Linked DNA regions of Homo sapiens: all the other regions are linked to region 3. Evidence: promoter capture Hi-C in human tissues and cell types (Jung and others, 2019). All regions are on one chromosome and are shown on one strand. Each heading gives the region's core, a stretch centred on a gene start or on the middle of the fragment in contact. The rest is flanking DNA. Distances are from core to core; before and after follow the strand shown. Region 1 has its middle 11 kb from the start of ZDHHC13. Region 2 overlaps ZDHHC13 (zDHHC palmitoyltransferase 13). Region 3 holds the start of MRGPRX2 (MAS related GPR family member X2).

What was found. Contacts are between HindIII fragments. The study calls those that stand out against the background at their distance.
Region 1: a contact is called between a fragment that was not itself captured here and the fragment with the promoter of MRGPRX2 in region 3, in 1 of the 25 tissues and cell types used here (neural progenitor cells).
Region 2: a contact is called between a fragment that was not itself captured here and the fragment with the promoter of MRGPRX2 in region 3, in 1 of the 25 tissues and cell types used here (psoas muscle).

What each region holds. Positions count from the first base shown.
Region 1 is chr11:19,104,956-19,108,198 of GRCh38, reverse strand. No RefSeq gene overlaps it. Among named protein-coding and RNA genes, the nearest start is that of ZDHHC13, 11 kb to the left of the region's middle. The HindIII fragment of the contact is 5,134 bases long and covers 1-3,243 here.
Region 2 is chr11:19,122,027-19,125,560 of GRCh38, reverse strand. All of the region lies in intron 1 of ZDHHC13 (zDHHC palmitoyltransferase 13), which reads right to left. Among named protein-coding and RNA genes, the nearest start is that of ZDHHC13, 6.6 kb to the right of the region's middle. The HindIII fragment of the contact is 5,447 bases long and covers 1-3,534 here.
Region 3 is chr11:19,059,174-19,062,574 of GRCh38, reverse strand. MRGPRX2 (MAS related GPR family member X2) reads left to right here and starts at 1,858. Exons shown (of 2, transcript NM_054030.4): 1 at 1,858-1,956. The HindIII fragment of the contact is 5,022 bases long and covers 1,626-3,401 here.

The DNA of each region.
Region 1 (3,243 bases), core at 246-2,745, 46 kb before region 3:
TTAACTTAAAAACAAAACAGTTTACCCTCTGGAATTGATCCAGAATCTTGAGTCAGACTTGCAAGGATTCTAACTTGAGGAAATGGGGTTAGCAGAAAACAAGGAGTAATTTCATAGTTGTAGGATCTTTAGAAATCCTCTACCCAATATGCTCCCTGAGTCAGAGTTCTCTCACTCTCCCACATCCCTTAAAAGCTGTTGGCACTATCTCCTTGAATACCCACAGTGGTGGGATACTCACTACCTTCTATCATACTGGTTACATTGGACAGAAGTATCCCTCACTTTTTTTTTTTTTTTTTTTTTTGAGACGGAGTCTCGCTGTCTCCCAGGCTGGAGTACAGTGGTGCGATTTCAGCTCACTGCAAGCTCCGCCTCCCGGGTTCACGCCATTCTCCTGCCTCAGCCTCCCAAGTAGCTGGGACTACAGGCGCCCGCCACCACCCCCGGCTAAATTTTTTTGTATTTTTAGTAGAGACGGCATTTCACCGTGTTAGCCAGGATGGTCTCGATCTCCTGATCTCGTGATCCGCCTGCCTCGGCCTCCCAAAGTGCTGGGATTACAGGCGTGAGGCACCGCGCCCGGCCAACTATCCCTCACTTTTATGTTTATAATCGGTCCTTTTTCCTTGGTTATGGCGCCACAAAAATTCCAGTGAATTCTCTCTTCTACTTCACCGCCCATTAGATACTTGAATGGATAATGGTACCCCTAAGTGTGTTGTCCCCCTGATTAAACATCCCCAGCTCTTTCAACCATCCCTCAGTTGGTGTGGAAACCAAGTGGAGGAGATGCTGCTGTTGTGGGAGCCAGACAGAGCTAGCTTTATATCCCAGCTCTTGCCAAGTAGCCTTGGCTAAGTCACACAATCTTTCTGCAATTCTACTACTATTTTGTAAGGCTGTTAAGAAGACTAAATGAGAGAATGTGTGTAAAGCATATGGTATGGTGTTTGCCTTAGGGTGGGTGTTTTGTATAGTGATAGGTGCCAATATTGTTATGGGACCAAGGACAACTTATTTGCCATCAAGTCAGAAGAATTCTACATTAAAAAAAGGAATGAGGTTGAGATATCTGGGAATGAAAAGAAAGCTGAGGGTGGGGTGGCCTGGCTAAGGGAGCTTGACAAAGAGGGACTTGAAGTCAAAAAGAGAAGAGACAGATCATAGGAGGCCAAAGATTCTATATAGTGAGGATGAGGATGCCAACTTCATAGTGGTTGGCATTGTGAGGAACAAATTGTTTCATGTATATGAAAGGACTTTGTAGAATAAATGCTCCCCCCTGCTCCCAGAACACCTGGTGCTTTACCACATTATATTAGGACAATTTTTAAATCATATCCCCCAAGACTATAAGTTCATTGTGGTAGGAAAATTTCTTTTTTGTCTGCCCATCTTCCACTGGGGAAGTGCCTCTCCCTTACCCTAAGTGGTTTAGGTGGGATTGTCAATTTCAGTATCCTGCCTGCTATGAGCCATAGGGCTGAGTCCCTGAGCCAGGCCTGACCAATCAAGGTACACCATCATTTTGCCCAGGGGGATTGTCGGGGTGAGGTGGGGGGGAGCATGTGCCCAAAACAGGGCCAATAAGAGTACTTTCATATAATTTGATCTATTGATGCTGTAAAAGCCAAGTTTCTTTCTTTTGAACTATGAATTCTAAGAATATAAACTTGGGGCTAAATTCTGCGTATTCAACAAGTATTTATTGAGAGCCTAAATATCAGCCAGGGTTCACAGGGTCCAGTCATGAGAACACATATCTCTCTAGATATTTTAAATGCGGGAATTTAACATAAGAAAGTGCTTACACAGTGTTGGAAGGGTTGAGAGAGCAAAGAGCGATTTTAAATGGACTCAGAGCTTAGTAACTGCCAAAAGAAGCTTCCATTCCTAAGGTTGTGGGAACAAAAGAGTAGAGGTGTTGTTACCAGATCTAGAACCCAGGAGATGGGGAGGCCTGGGCTGGTGCTTTGACCACAGGTGGCTGGTGCCAAGACCATGGTGGGCACTGTGCACGCTGATTGGAGAGCTGCTTAGGCTCTGAGGAAGTAGCTCCATTAGTGGGTGCTAGAAGTGCCCAAAACACCCGTTGTTCTCCGTGCCTGTTGGAAGGTTGCTAACAGAAGTCTGAAGCAGGAAAAGAGCCTCTTCTCTCTTCCTCTTGTCTTCCAATTTCCCACCAGTGCCTTATTAGGCTTATAGAAGGCCTCACTGGCTTTCTATCTGAAAGCCGATTGGCAAGAGAATCCAGGGAATGTAATTCCAGTGTCCAAGCCTCCTTAAAACCCATAGCAGAACAAAGCAGTGGAAATGAAATTTGAGAGCAATCAGGCAAAAGACAGCCCGTGTGCAATGTGCTAGGTCTCATTCTAGGGACTGGAGGAATAGTAGTAAGCAAGACAGACAAAAATCCACTCCCCAATGGCTTGCTTCTGGAGAGAATGAGAGATAATACAAAAGCAAGCCTATAGGCAAGCAAGGTACAAACAAGGATACCAAGCACCATTTGTCTCAGTGCAGACTCCCTAGAAGCTGAGCACCAGATGAGGATTATTATGCAAACGCCTTATTAAGGAAGTGCTCTCAGGAACACCTGCTAGGAAGTGAGGAAATGGGATGGTTAATTTTATGTCACTTTGGCTACATTATGGTGACCAGCTGCCTGGTCAAACACTAGTTGAGACTTAGTCAATGTTTAAAACCAGTCGACTTAAAGTGAAGCAGATTACTTTATATGGTGTGGATGGGCCTCATCCAATCAGCCAACCGCCTTAACAGCAAAGGCTGAGGTTTCCCAGAGAAAAATGAATTCTGCCTTCAGAGGGCACCATAGAAATTCCAGCATTCATATTCAAGACTGCAACATCAACTCTTACCCGAACATTCAGCCTCCAGCCCACTGACTTACCCTATGGCTTTCAGACTTGCCAGTCCTGACAATTGCATGAACAAATTTCTGAAAATAAATCTGTTATCTTTCCTGTTGGTTCTGTTTTTCTGTAGAATCATGACTAATACAGGGAAGGGGGAAAAACCAAAAAAAAGGGATGTGATTTCAGGCCAAATCCTCTCAGTCTGATGCCACTGGAAGCTCTGGATTGTAAACTGCACCATAGAGTTTGCCATTTCTTGAGGCAAAGGAGGTGAGCTTCATGCATCTGTACCAGTCAGTCCCTGGGCAGGTTATACACATACTTTGACTATCGGGAATTTCTTTTTTCTGTTTTTTCAAGGCTA
Region 2 (3,534 bases), core at 269-2,768, 63 kb before region 3:
TTATGAGAAACTGCTAAACTATTTTCCAGACTGGCTATATCACCTTGCATTGCCACTAACAACTATGAGAGTTACAATTGTTCTGCATTCTCACCAGCACTTGGGATTGTCAGTCTAATAGATGTATAGGGGCATCTCATCATGGTCTTAATTTGCATATCCTTAACGGCTAATGAAGTTGAGCATCTTTTCACATGCTTATTTGCCACCTGTATATCTTCTCTGGTGAAGTGTCTGTTCAAGTCTTTTGTCCATTTTTTAATTGAGCTGTTTGTTTTCTTACTGTTAAGTTTTGAGAGTTCTTTATATTATATATTCTAGATACAAGTCTTTTGTCAGATATGTGATTTGCAGATATTTTCTCCTGGTCTGTACCTTACCTTCCCATCTCTTAAAAGTCTGTTTCATAGAGCAGAAGTTTTAAATTTTAAAAAAGTCCAATTTATCAATTTGTTCTTTTATGGATTGTGCTTTTGGTGTCACGTCTAAAAACTACTGTCTTGGGGTCACAATTCCTCTGTTCAGAGAGTTCTCCCTCAGTGTTTCTGGTGACTGTGCTGCCAGGAAATCCCTTTGTGGCTCCTTGAGCTTTAACTAGATAGCTTCTCATAGAGCACTCGTCTGCACTGATGCTTATTTCCAGGGCTCAAGTCAAGGCTGGGGGCAAATCAGAGAGAAAAAAGGTAAATCAGCTACTGATTTGGTGGTTTTTGAATTCCGGTCTTTTTCTTCTTCAGTCCACCTGCTTTTCTGAATAGGTAAATTCTGATTTATCTGGTAAATAATCAGTACCCCCCCACACACACGCAGAATCACACACAGCTAAAAATAAACATGTAGGTAGTTAGATTAAAATGTAAATAAAAACATTACTTTAGGATGCTTTTCCTGATATCACAGTAATTATATTCAATTGGAAGAAGGCAAAGGGTTGAGGAAAAGAGTTGAACTATACTAAAAATTTCTAGAATCTCAATAAGTAACAGGTATAACAAAAAGTGCAGCTAAGATTGACAAAAAAAATCAGTGTATTTTTATATAAAAAATTTTTACTAGAATTTTAAAACCATAAAATGATAACATATTAATTTTAAAGATCTAGCAATACAGAAGTGAATACAGGGTTAACAATCCGGACTCTTTCCTCTTCAATACTGTACCACCAGAGATAACCATTATTAACAATTGGGTGCATCTTCCCTCATTATGTATATATATTTTAACATATATAATATTGTGCTATATACATACATACATCCACATTTTTAATCATTTTCTTCTTATACTTATTGAACAAAGAATAGTATCACATTATATACATTATTCTTCAACTTGCTTTTCTCATGTAACAATATATCATGTACAGTCCTGCAGTTCAGTAATATTTCACTATTGTTCCATTGTATATAGATCTAGTATAATTCATTCAACACTCCCCTTTGGTTAGAGACACAGGTTGATTTCAGCCTTTCATATCTATACACAATCAACACCCTGGGCATTCTAATTCTATAGGATTGATTCCTCAAAGTAGGACTGTTGAGTCAAAAAACGTGCATTTTAAACATAAATAGATTCTGACCAAATACTCTCCCCAATTCACAGTCCCAATAGCAAAGTATATACGTGTTCTTTCTCCCTACAAACCTTCCCAGAACTGAATATTATCAATCTTTTTACAACCTTGACACTTTGATGGCTAAAAATGGCATCCTATCTTTCACCTGTACTCCCCTAGTTGCTAATGAGTCTGAGTGTTTTGTTTGTTGTTGTTGTTGTTGTTAGGTATACTGGCTCTCCATATTTTCTCTTTTGTGGATTGCCTTTTCATAGTCTACTTGTTTTTCTAATGAATTGCACATATCTGTTTCTCTTTGTAGGTTAGAAAGATTAAGCCTTTTTTGTTTTGTTTTTGAGATGGGGTATTACTCCGTCACCCAGGCTGGAGTGCAGTGGCACCATCAAATCTCACTACAGCCCTATCTGCTGGGCTCAAGTGATTCTACCACCTGACCCACCGTAGTAGGTAGGACTATAAGCAAGCACTACCACACCCTGCTGATTTTTTTATTCTTCTGTAGATAGGTCTCGTTATGTTGCCCAGACTGGTCTCGTTATGTTGCCCAGACTGGTCTTAAACTCCTGACCTCAAGTTATCCTTCCGTCTTGGCCTCCCAAAGCACTAGGGTTACAGGCATGAGCCACCACACCCCACCCTGACCCTTTGTTTATACACAGATTTTTCATCACAGAAAACTGACTCATTCTAGATACAAATTTGTTGCTTCTTATACTATTTTAAGGCATTAAGGACATCAGCTTTATTTTTCATGTATAAAGTTGAGGAGGTTTACATGTTTTAATGTGAAGAATATCCACAATTGAGAATATTTGTTTAGTCGGCAATTAATTACTGTGTATTTATGATGTACAATTACGCTAAGGGCATATAAGACATGGGTGTCTATCCTCCAGGAATTTAAGTCTAATAAGGGAGATATGTCAGAGACAGAGTGAAATAATAATAGCAGGCAATATGTGATTATATATGATTAAATGGCAACTTTAAGAAACTAGAAAACAGAAGATATCTTCCGTTCATGTCATCATTGTTTACCCGCATGCAGATCAAAGTAAAACCTAAAAATGACTATATTCAAAGCTTGTGTTTGAAGTCAATCATCTACAAAGTGAGGAAAGTACACTCAAAGCCATATATGCAGTGACCCACTAGGTAATGTGAGAAAATGTTAAAGCTTCTATTATAATAATTTTTTATCTTTTTACTTAAAAAGGAAAAATAAAATTTACAAATTTGAGTTTTTAAAGCTTTACCAAATTTATTTTTTCTTTTTAGCACACCTCTGCTGGCAGGAAAGCTTTACTAATTTTTAACGATGGCAGTCTCATTTATTGATATGCCAAGCAGGTCACTCCTTATACTCTGTTTACAAGGTAACCTAAGGGCAGAGAAAGCTTCCACAAACAGAGAGTTGACAGTAGGACCTTCAGCATTTTACAATATATATTAGATTATTTTCAAATTATATTGTTAAATTTTAACTAAATTACCTCTCCCAAAATGAGCAAGTAGCTTAAGCTGATTTCTACAAAGAAGCCATGAATTGAGGTAATAATAATAATAATAATAAGCACAAGCAAATAAGAAAATAGCAGATCAGGAACTCTTTATCAGACACATGAAGTATAAACAAAGATGATCTAATCCAATCTGACAAGTCAGTACCCCCTTGGAAAAAATTCAAAATTGTCAAGAGGCTAAATTGAGGCAGATTTATAACCACCATCTTTAATTCAAATCTTGCCATGAACATATACTGAGCTATTAGTTAATGAATATAATTTAGAAATACATGTCAAATCCTACAATAACATGACCCACGACAATATGAAATTGGCCGCCAGCTCCTATCCCCATGTTCAAACAGAAGAGAGCTGAAATTTTTATTTTCTGTGAAGTTTTCTGTGAAGCAAGGTCAGGAAAAGGAGGGCAAGGACACAACAGAGAAGAAG
Region 3 (3,401 bases), core at 609-3,108:
CTAACATATGTTGAATTAGACTTCCAGAAAGAGATAATACTAAAAGTGATAATGAGAGCTAATAATTTTATAGTACTTACTATGTGCTCCTATTGTAAATCATTTATATACATTAAATTATTAATCTTCACAGCAAACCTATAGATTAATAATGTTATCCCCATTTTACTGATGAGGAAACAAACATAACAGAGTTACAAAATCTGGCTAAGGTCCCATAGGAGAAATGCCAAGTAGCCTGGTCTTGTGTTCTTCACCGTTATGTTAATATTTAAAGAGATTATAGCATTAAATTGTTTAAAAATGTTAAATGATGATAATTTTAAAATCTAGGAAACTCCACAAATCCCAAACATGATTTGAAAAAGAGTCACCAGATACAATTTGGTGAGAATGTATCATAGCAGAGAAAAATAAAAGCTCTTAGAGGAAAAAAAGGCAGATCACCACAAGCAAATGGCAACCTGACTGATGGCCGCAACAGTAACCCTGGCAGTCAGAACATGGATCTTCAATGTGCTGGAAGAAAGAAACTATCACCCTACAATGCCATGCCTGGAAAAACCATCTTTAGAAGACGAGGGTGAAACAATGACATTTTCAGATAGATAAAAGGAGGCATTTACCATGCAGAGACTCTCACAGAAGGAACTCCTGAAGAATGTGTTTTGAGAAATGGAAGATATGAGATGTAAAATGGGAGGATGAGCAAAAGCATTGGTGATTATGTGGATAAATCTGAATAAACACTGACTATTTAAAACAATAATAAGTGTTTCATTTGTTGGAGGGAAACAGAATCAAAATCAAATAATAGAGCACAGTAGGTTAGACAGTAACAGAAGTTAAAGCTTTCTAAGGTCCTGCTGCTGCTCATGAGGAAAGCAGATTTCTGGGGACAAATGCATGGTTTACCCACTGCACCAAAGTATAATACAAGAAAATGCTGAGTCTCAGAACTCGCCTCAATCAACACATGTTCCCTGTCTGAGGTCACCCAGCTGCTCTGGAATGCAAAGGGGCATGATCTTGTATGGTGTTCATCATTGTGTCTTCATTGCCTGGAACGGTACCTGACATATCATAGGCAAACAATAAACAGTGTTGAATGAATGAATAAATGAGTGAATAATTTCTTCTGATTGTCTTAAATGCTTCATAATTGTTACTTATAACTCAATTTGGCTGCAGCATAGGCACATGAAAGGAAGTCATAGGAGATAAGGCTGAAAATATTGGTTGGCTCTAGATGATCTAAAAATAATCTAGCTAATAAATATCATGATGTAGAGGGAGAAACGTGACAGATGGTGCATGTGATGTGCTAAGTCCCCTATATTTTATAAGGAGACTCAATATATCTAGTTGTTAACATCGATAAATCAAAAATAGAAATGTTGTTTTATTACGCAAAGCTTTTTTAAAAAAAAGAATGGAAACTGTATGCAGTGGTTGCTTTTGGGGAATGAGACTTCGAGAGACTTTGCATTTCATTTTATACACCTTAGTGTCATTTGAAATAAACCTGATTTTGAAAGGTCAAGTAAGCCAGGGCCTTGAATGCCAAGCAGAAGAGGGCAGACTATTCTTTAGCTATGAAAGCTCACGTCGCTTGATTGGTCTGCTTCCTGGATGCTCATTGTGGGCAATGAAAGACTTCAGGACGGTGATTCCTTGCAGGGAGTGGGGCCGGAGAGGGTAGGGGAGAAACCAAGATAAGTGATTGGAGTCAGGGCAAATGCTGAGAAACATCTCATGTGGTTTCCTGTGTCATACTCTTATTTTCCAGCACCCTCTGTACAGGAAATCACAGGGTTGTTGAGCATCTTGATAAGCTTCACTCAGTCATCAGGTTTCACTCCAGATCCTGCAGGCATCTCCCCATCCTCAGCTGTTTGCCAGTCCCAGGAAAGCACTTCTCAACTCACCAACTCCAGTAGAAAGAAGGGTGTTAAGGTAAGAGTTTGTTCAAGAACCATCTTCTTTCAAAGGCAGTTTTGGTTTTTACCTTAGTCCACATCCTGATGAATTCATTAGGAAAAGAAGACAGGAAGCTCCTTTGAGGAAGCTTTGGATGCTGGCAGCTTAGATGCTGGGAGATCCGAATGGGGTCAAGCAGGTTCGTCCCACTTCTCTTCTATCTACCAATATTCTCCCCTTCTCTTCGACCATTCAAATCTGAAACTATGGAGAGAAAGATTTTGCTGATTTTAATTTAGGGGCAGGCTAGAATGAAGTCATTACTTCCCTAAGCTAAATTGTTATTTAAAACCTCAGGTTGCACTGATTTTCTTGTTATTCAAAAGGTTTTTCCTTCATATCTGTCATTGTCCCAGCAGAAAACACACATCACACACTCTAAAGGGGTAGTTTAGAGGAGTTTAGTGAAGAGACTGTTTACAACGGCGTGAACAGGGATTAAGGAATGATGAAGCCCTCAAAGGCAAGTGATAGTGGAGGGCTGTTACCGTTGCTAGGTCTGAAGTGATAAGGAGAAAGAGAAGTTCTGAGAACTCAGAATGTGCTGTAGCGGTAACTGTAACTGTAACTATAGCTGTGGCTACAGGAAAGGGCCACCAGGCAGGGCTATGTCCTTAGGTAGAAAAACACTGCCACTGCCAACTCACAGCCCTTCAGGGCGCAGGGAGAGAGCCAGGAAATTTTTAAAAAATCATCCCCCAATCTACTGTCAATGTGTCCCTTTGGCTGAAAAAAAAAGTCACCCTCCAATCTCCTGTCAATGTGTACCCTTTGGAGCCTGAGTGAAAGACAGCCCATTGACGAGGCACAGACATGTCTCCTCCCAGGATGCAAAGGCAGGTAGAGAAGGATGGACATGAGATCCTAATAGCAAATAGGAAAGTCCATTTCTTCCCATAGCCTCTTCTCAGTTTGTCTTTCCTGAGACTTTCTCTATTAATGTGATTGAATCAATTTCTCATTCTATCACCTCCCTTTTTTTTAATTGTTTGACCTTCCCATCTAGTGTCACTTCTTTGGACTAGTCTCTCACTATCATCATAAATGCCTTGAGAATGGAATGTGGTTGGGAAAAAAAGGGATTGGGAGTACATAGGTACTCCCAGCTATAAGTACACAGGTATGTGTAATGTAAGTTTATGATTTTGGCTTCTCTAAAAAGAAACCTATTATAGTGATAATCAAAAAGAATGTTTACTAGACTTGGGCTGATAACTCTAAGACATCAAACATCAAGGCTCCTTCCAATTTCTATTTCCCCATCCCTAAAGCGGTACCCTTACCCTCATGGTCCTACATGGCTCCCAAACACATCAGCATTCCAGCCAGAGAGAAGAGAAAAAAAGAAAGAGTACAGGAGTAGCTGGTTATATCACTTTCTCTCACCTCCCCTTGACCATCACATATGGTTACATGGTGCC